Regions from separate parts of the Homo sapiens genome. Here region 1 is linked to region 2. The links are contacts of gene promoters, found by promoter capture Hi-C in blood cells and fetal thymus (Javierre and others, 2016). All regions are on one chromosome and are shown on one strand. The core of a region is centred on a gene start or on the middle of the fragment in contact, and the rest is flanking DNA. Distances in the headings are between cores, read along the strand shown. Region 1 has its middle 180 kb from the start of LRP12. Region 2 holds the start of DPYS (dihydropyrimidinase).

Region 1 (3,985 bases), core at 382-2,881, 310 kb after region 2:
AAAGCCAATACATGGAGACAGCAGTGTTGCAGCACAGAAAGAGTTTAATTATCACAGGGCAGCTGAGCAAGAAGAAGGGAGTTATTTCTCAAATGTACCTCCCTGAAAACTCAGAGGCTAGGGTTTTTAAGGATAATTTGGTGGGCAGGGGCTAGGAAATGGGTGCTGTGGTTTGGCTGGGAATGGTATCATAGGGATGTTGAAATTGTCTTTGTGCGCTGAGTCAGTTTCTGGGTAGAATTCACAGGACAAGTTGAGTCAGTTTCTTGGTATGGGTCACAGGTCCAAGTGGCATCATGTGGTCCACCAGGATGCAAAAGTCTGAAAAGTATCTCAAAGACCAGTCTTAGGTTTTATAATAGTGATGTTATTTAGAGGAGCAATTGGGGAAATTAACAAATCTTGACATTCGACTACATGACTCCTGAGCAGTAAGCAATTATAGAAAAGCAAGCTAGGGAAAAATGGCTGGTTATCACTTAACTATGTCTATGTCTTAGCAGAATTCAGGCCCTTCTCATAATTCTAACCTTGTGGTCTTTCATTAGCTTTACAAAGGCAGTTTTGGTCCCTGAACGAGGAGGCGGTTTGTTTCAGGAAGGGACTATTATCATCCTTGCTTTAAAGTTAAACCATAAACAGCATTCTTCCCATTCTTAGCTTGGCCTATGCCCAAGAATGAGCAAGGGCAGTTAGCTTGTGAGGTTAGAAGCAGAATGGAGTCAGTTATGTTAGATTTCTCTCACTGTTATTATTTTTGCAAAGGCAGTTTCAAGATGTCCTTGTTTCTTCTTTTGCACCTGCTCCAATGTGGTCATCAGGTCTTTCTCCATGTTTCTTTAATTTCTAATTCACACAGTGCAGGTCTTCATGGCTAAATGTTTTCATTTCTTAATAGACTCTTGAACAACTGCACCTAATCCAGTGTACTTGGCATGGAGTTCCTAGAGTCATATTTGATGAACATATTTTACAATCTTCCATTTCCTTAAGAATATAGTGTCTCCTTTTCCATATCCCACCTTATCCTAACTCTAACCAAGTGCGACAGGCTCTACATTGTCCAGCTGCCTCTCCTTCCGTTAAGCCTGTCCCCAATTATTCCCCAGCATAATTCCTCCACTTTCTGTGGACTAGACCTTAGTGTCTACTGTGTGCATGCATGTGTGCATGCACATGCGCACACACACACACACACTTTTCCTCTCTCTTGAAATTCTTCCTCAAAAATAAAAAAAAATATAATAATATCAATTGCAAAATAATTTTATAAGAATTAGATAATATAACAAGTAAAAATAAAGTGCTTTGCCTGGTTCAGAATAAGCTTTAAACAGGAAATAAATTATGAATTTGTATTTATCCACACCCTAAAACTCAGTCCACATTGACCGCTCTTTTGCTTTGGGCAACCTCCCCGATTTTATGAATTGAAGGAGTCCAGAATAAACCATTGTGGCATAAAAATTATTTTTAGCTGAAGGCATTTGAGTTCCTAAAATCCCTTATCTGTCTATAAGCAGAGCCTCCCCGAAGAACTCAATTGTCATAAATCCCCTCCCTGGGAGCAGCTGTAATCTCTTCTTGGAGAGGAGAAGTTGGCACCACACCCAAACAAACATTGTCACAAAATTATCACATCTCCCATCTATTCTCCCAAGGGCCCATTTATCTTTCCAAAAAGTCGTTTGTTTTTCCATAAGTTTCTCCCTGCTCCCCAAGAAGTCATTTGTTCTCCCAGAAACACCTGTTTGTCCCTTCCTATAACCTATTAACATAGTGTACAAGCCCCCAATTCTAGCCATCTCCTTCAGTCACATTTTTTTTGTGAACTCCTGCATACATTTGTAATTAAATGTTTTATTTTCTCTTGCTAATCTGTCTTCTGTCAGTTTAATTTGCAGGCTTCCAATCACTAAATTTAAGAGGGTAGAGAAAAGCTTTTACTCCCCAACAATATCATTTATATTATTTAGTACTTGTTACATTACGTAGGTTTGCTTGTTTATTTATGATGCTGTACCTTTTCTCAAATCGATTGTAAACTGCTTTAGATCAAGGACCATATTTTCATCTGTGTGTTTGTGTGTCTGTGTGTGGGGGTGCACATGTGTATACTTTATGGCGTCTATTATAGTGCTGTGGATACTATTGAATTAAATATCTGTTACAATGTAGCATATACAAGAAATGATATTTCTGGATGAATGAATAAAGGAATAAAGGAAATCATGGATATTGGTCATGTGATTATTCTTTAGGATGCAAAGCTACCTATGAGGGTCTCTTTATAACCATTTACTCTTTTCCAGCCCCTCATCTTGATTCCTTCTCCTTCAACACCCATACCCAGTCAATCATTATGTTTTGTCAGTTCCACTTAGCTCATCACTCTTGAATCTGTATTTCTATAAGTCCAGACCATCTGCTTTCTCTTGCAGGTTCATACTCTGCAGGGCAGCCTAGTTGGATGGTACTAAAGGACAGGGATGATTATGTCACTCTCTTGCTTAAAATCCTTTATTAGTTTCCCACTCCCCTTGGGATACAGTCCAAATTGCTCAACATGGGTGTCTTAGTTTGGTTTCTTCAGAGGGTACAGTATGAGACACAGATTTGGGTGGTGGTGGTTTATTTGGGAGGTGATCCCACAGAATAGCGTGAGGGAACCAGGAGTGTGAACATGAGAAAAAAAAAATCAATATAGGGTTTGCTATTGAGCTGGTCCTTATGGCAGATGACTGGGCTCAATTCCCTGGAGACCATCTGAGGAACCACACAGGATCCTTCTCAGAATTGTCCCCCAAGGATGAAATTGGGCACGTATCTGCTGACAGCATTTCTGTTGGTTGGAGAACTATACCTGGAGCTGGGCTATCTGCTTCCCCCAAACTTCCGGCTGCTTCTGTGTGTAGGTGAGCAGCTTTCTACAGCCTCAGAGAAAGCCTTGAGGCAGAACGCTTACTCTGCAGGGTGTACAACCCACACTTGATATTCCCAGACTGATATTCCCAGACTCCCCCAGATGTACCATGCTTTTGCTCATGTGTACATCTGATTCCTTTACCTGGAATTCTTTTCTCCTTGATGACTTCTGCTTTCCTTTAGATTTTAGGGCAGGTATTGCTTCCTTGAGGAAACCTTCCCTGCTTGGTGTCCCCATGCCCTGCCATGTGCCCATAGGAAGGAGTTAGTTTGCTCCTCTTTTGTGTTCCCATAACACACCCTTTTAAATTATACTTACTGCTCTGCATTGTCATTATGGTCTACTTGAAGAGTGAAAGTTACATGAGGCCAAGGGCTATGTCTTTTCCATCATTATATCCTACCATAGATCCTATCTATAGATCCTTATATAGTAGATGGAACACAATATATGCTCAATAAATATTTATGGAACAAAGAATAAATGAACTACGTAATAGTTGTGCCCTGAATATCTTCTAATGTATTAGTACTCTAGTTTCTAAGAAACACAAAGCCCAACCCAAATTGACTTAAGCCAAAAAGATAATTCAGTACTTAATTAATTAACTGAAAAATGCTGGGCAGATCTGGCTTTAGGGACAGCTTAATGAGGACTCAAACATTGGCCTTGGGATATGGCTCCTCCGTGGGAGGCGGGTAGGTAAAAGAGAGGCAGATGGGGTGAAGCAGTGATACCTTAGAGGGGGCACCTCTGAAGCAGAAATGTAGACAAGGATTCTTGTACAAGTAATTTATTGGGGAAATGTCTTCGGAAGGGGAATGAGGAAAACAGGATGGGGCAGTAGAAGCTAAACAAGGATGTGGTCTCAGCAGGAGTGTGATCCCACGGGGAGCTCTGGAGTGTGAATTAAACCGTGAAGTTGGTTCCACCTTAAGGCAAAGGGAATGGCTTTTTGGACCCCAGTGTTCACTTAGTCACTGTCTGTGGGCTGCCTCTGGGGTGTGTGTATGTGTGTGAACCTCTGTCTAGGTGGCACCTGTTTGACTGAGGGTAATT
Region 2 (4,147 bases), core at 664-3,163:
GGAGAGGGGGAGGTGTAAGGAGAGCAAAACTGTCAGAAATCAGTATATGAATGAAGTAGCTATCACCAAAACTGCTTTGGAAGACTGTCAGCCTGTCCACAGTAACATGGGAATAGAAAGAAAGAGAGGGGTGGAGGGGGTAGTGGGGGGAGAAAGAAGGGAGGGAGTGATGGAGAGAAGGAGGGAGGGAGGAAGGAAGCCTACTATACACTGGACTTAATAGCCCAACTTGTTTCACACATCAAGGTATGGTCCAAGTGAAAAGCCAAGGCCTTTAGTATATCAATACATCTTCACTTTGGAAGGAGCCATTTCTCTCAAGGCAGCTCAAAACACAGGACTTAGGGAGGATGTGGGCTTTACTTTAGCCCAAGTGCTGAGAGTAGAATTTTTACTCTATGTTCCTGTAAAGCTGCTCTGTTAGTCTCTTGATCTTGTGTTGAGGAGCTTTGGGGAAATGTTGCAGGGGTGTCCAATCTTTGGCTTCTCTTGTCTTGGGCCACACATGAAATATACTAACACTAACGACAGCCAATGAACTAAGAAAAAAAATCTCATAATGTTTTAAGAAAGTTTATGAATTTGTGTTGGGCCGCATTCAAAGCTGTCCTGGGCTGCATGCGGCCTACAGGTTGGACAAGTTTGGTTTAAGTTTCCTTTCATTGACCCAAACTTCTAGGCCTTTGTATCTAGAGAAACCCAAGCCTACCTTCACCTGGGGAGTGGTGATCTGATTACCCTCCTGCAACATCAGTAAAACTATGGGTACTCCAGCAGCAAGAATGTTGTGTCCCCAGCGCAAGTGGGATGGAGAAAAGAGCCTGCTGCGAGGCTGCGTTGGTGTGTGTGAGTGTTGCGAGATCATTTCTGGAATACTTTCTCTTCTAAACCCTGGTCGGGGCTATATTTTTTCTACTGGGGGTGGGAGTGGGGGCAGAGGGTAGGGGACGGGAACGTGAACACGGTGGGCATCTAGCCTACTCAGACACATTACCTGCTACACTGCTCACTTTGAGTCAAGGCTGTAACTACCAGGTGAATGGATTTTTCATTTGGTTTTGGTTGGGGATAAAGGATGGGTCGAAATGGTTGGGAGAAATGGCTGGAAGTGCCTACTTTAAAAAAAGATTCTAAAGAATGTATGGAAGATTTGCGACTTCCACAGAACACCAATCAAAATGGGGTTGCGGGGAGATTTGGGGAGTAAGCGGTATAGAGAAATTAGGGTAAGGGGATGGCCTTAAACTCGTCAAATTAACCACTAAAGGAGGAGTCGAGGGCATCTGGTTGAGCCAAGGCTGCTCGGCTGCCGCCGAGAAGGGGCGCCTGAAAGGGACCCCAGCGAAGAGAATCTGAGTCCCCTCTGACACCCGCCGGGGCTGCGCTCCTTCCCGCCCACCCAGCTCCTCGGCGCCGCGCCGCGCGAGGCGGCCCTGCTGAGGACCCCGGGACGACTGGGGAGGCTGCCCGAGCCTCCGTGGGTACCGCGGGGCGGGGGCGCGGCGGGGCGGGTACCTTGGTGCCCTGGTGGAAGTCGTCGATGGACCGCGAGCCCATGAAGGGGAACTGCATGTGCGTGTGTGTGTCGATGCCTCCGGGCAGGACGAGCTTGCCGGCGGCGTCGAGGACCCGCAGCCCCGCAGGAGCGCCCCCGGGAGGCAGCAGGTCGTGCCCGAGTGCCCGCACCACGCCGTCCTCCACCAGCACGTCGGCCACCTCCGAGAAGTCATCGTTGACCACGCGACCCCCGCGGATCAGGAGCCGCGAGGGCGCCGCCATAGCGAGGGGCGCGCGGGGTCCTACTCGGCCCGGGCTGCGCGCAGGGGCTGGGTTGGGCGGGCCGGGCGGGCTTGGGGTGCCCTCCTGCAAGGTCCCCACCGACAGCCCCCGAGCTCTGCCTCAGGCTGCAAATCCGGAGCCCGGCGGCCTGACGGGTTTATGACCTGGCCGCATATGCGGCTCCTCCCCCCGGGAAGGCTGGGCTGGAGCCCAAAGGCCGGGATTGAACAGGTCCGCATGGTCCTTGCACACTCAGACCCCAAGTGTTCTGCGCCCTGAGTTGAGGTATCCACCCAGGCTTCGGAGTCATTGGAAGGGAAAGATCTTGGAATTTTAAGAGAAAGGAACCTGCGTTTTTCATCATAAGATTAGGTGCTAAAGGGAAAGAAATCCACCTCACCCTTTCCCTTGGTTGGGGGTGTGTTTGTACCAAAAGACAGATCCAGAGGGAGAAAGAAAGCAAGAACCATCACTAGAAGCAGCAACAAAAATACCCAAACCCACCCAAGCCAGAACAGAGCCACTCGATCTGGGTTTCCTGTTAAATGTTCTTAAGCGAGGAGCAAATTATCATATAATCCCAGTAATTGGCAGACACAGGGAAGGATCAGAGTAAAATATTTAATGTATTTGAAAGAAAACGACTTGGTGTCAACTATTCTCCACAGTTTAATGATACAACACATACCAGCAAGTGTTTCTTGGAAAATAACCGGTACTGTAACTCTAAAGATTTAAATTTCTACTCCCAGCTTTTCCACAAAACCAGTTTAGAGATCTTCAGTTAAATCTTTTATTCTCTTGGTTCCTCAGTTTTCTCATATATAAAATTGATTAATACTTGTTCTTGCCTTCCATATTTGCTTTGAGAAGCAAATATGATCATGGCTGTGAATACACCCTAATAAAGTGGGAAGCACCATGCAAATTCACTTAAATACTGGCTTTGTAAGGACTACAAAGCTTACCTGACTAGGGGGATTGGCTAGAGGGCTAAGTGGGAAAGATAAACCACATTTCCACCCTCAAGTAGCTAACAGCCAACAGTGACACACATTCATATTTCAATATATAAAACAGAACATTCTATCTTTGAGAAGGGATAAAGATAAGAATTTAGAGGAAAGAGTGAGTTTATTTCTGGCTTAAAGACATCAGATATGGAAGATTTGTGAAGAGGTATTTGAACTAGGATACAGAGAATGTGAACACGCAGAGGTGAGTGGTGGGAAGAGGACATAGTGCTCCAGGTAGAGTGAACAGAGCGTGTAAAGGCACAGAGAGGATGAAGGAATGCACTCCCTGTGGTTAAGCTATGAGGGATAGGCTTACACTGAATCCTGGACCATCCCTTTGCTTATAGGGGAGGAGGAGGAAGAAGAGACAGAGTGGTCAGAGAGAAGGGAGACCACAGGTCTGTGTGATGGAAGGCAGGAATGCAGAATTTTAAGAAGGGCAACAGGATGGAATCTTGCAAAAGGGTTATGAAGGGTCATGGGGAGGTGGGGTGGACATCTGCTGACCAGGCATATATTCTTGTCCTTATTCTGGTAACAGTCACTGGCATTTCTTTGGTGGGAAATCCTCTGCCTGAAGTCTCAGAACACTTGTTTTGGAGAAACTGATGGTGAGAGACAGGACTAGCTGGATTTCCTAGGCTGACTAAGAATTCCTAAGCCTAGCTGGGGAAGGTGACTACACCTACCTTTAAACATGGGGCTTGCATCTCAGCTCACACCCTACCAGTCAGGTAGTAAAGAGGGCTCACTAAAATACAAATTAGGTTAAAAGCAGGAGGTAAAGAAATAGTCAAATCATATATCACCTGAGAGCACAGGAGGAGGGACAATGATCAGGATATAAACCCAAGCATTCCAGCAGGGAGCGGCAACCCCCTTTGGGTCCTCTCCCATTGTATGGGAGCTCTGTTTTCACTCTATTAAATTTTGCAGCTGCACACTCTTCTGGTCTGTGTTTGTTACGGCTTGAGCTGAGCTTTTGCTCACCATCCACCACTGCTGTTTGCTGCCGTCACAGACCCGCCGCTGACTTCCACCCCTCTGAATCCAGCAGGGAGTCCGCTGCGCTCCTGATCCAGCGAGGCGCCCATTGCCGCTCCAGTTCAGGCTAGAGGCTCGCCATTGTTCCTGCATGGCTAAGTGCCCGGGTTTGTCCTAATCTAACTGAACACTAGTCGCTGGGTTCCGTGGTTCTCTTCCTTGACCCACGTTTTCTAATAGAACAATAACACTCACTGCATGACCCAAGGTTCCATTCCATGGAATCCATGAGGCCAAGAACCCCAGGTCAGAGAACAAAAGGCTTGCCGCCATCTTGGGAGCGGCTCACCACCATCTTGAGAGCACTA

Evidence for each region. Contacts are between HindIII fragments. The CHiCAGO score rates a contact against its expected background, and 5 or more counts as called.
Region 1: a fragment that was not itself captured here is called in contact with the fragment with the promoter of DPYS in region 2 in 2 of 17 cell types (erythroblasts and megakaryocytes); the score reaches 5.6 in erythroblasts.

What each region holds. Positions count from the first base shown.
Region 1 is chr8:104,770,648-104,774,632 of GRCh38, forward strand. No RefSeq gene overlaps it. Among named protein-coding and RNA genes, the nearest start is that of LRP12, 180 kb to the left of the region's middle. The HindIII fragment of the contact is 613 bases long and covers 1,326-1,938 here.
Region 2 is chr8:104,465,142-104,469,288 of GRCh38, forward strand. DPYS (dihydropyrimidinase) reads right to left here and starts at 1,914. Exons shown (of 10, transcript NM_001385.3): 1 at 1,516-1,914. The coding sequence starts at 1,779. LOC105375691 (a long non-coding RNA gene) reads left to right here and starts at 629. Exons shown (of 3, transcript XR_928507.3): 1 at 629-846. RefSeq lists an enhancer at 3,668-4,147. The HindIII fragment of the contact is 2,857 bases long and covers 1-2,740 here.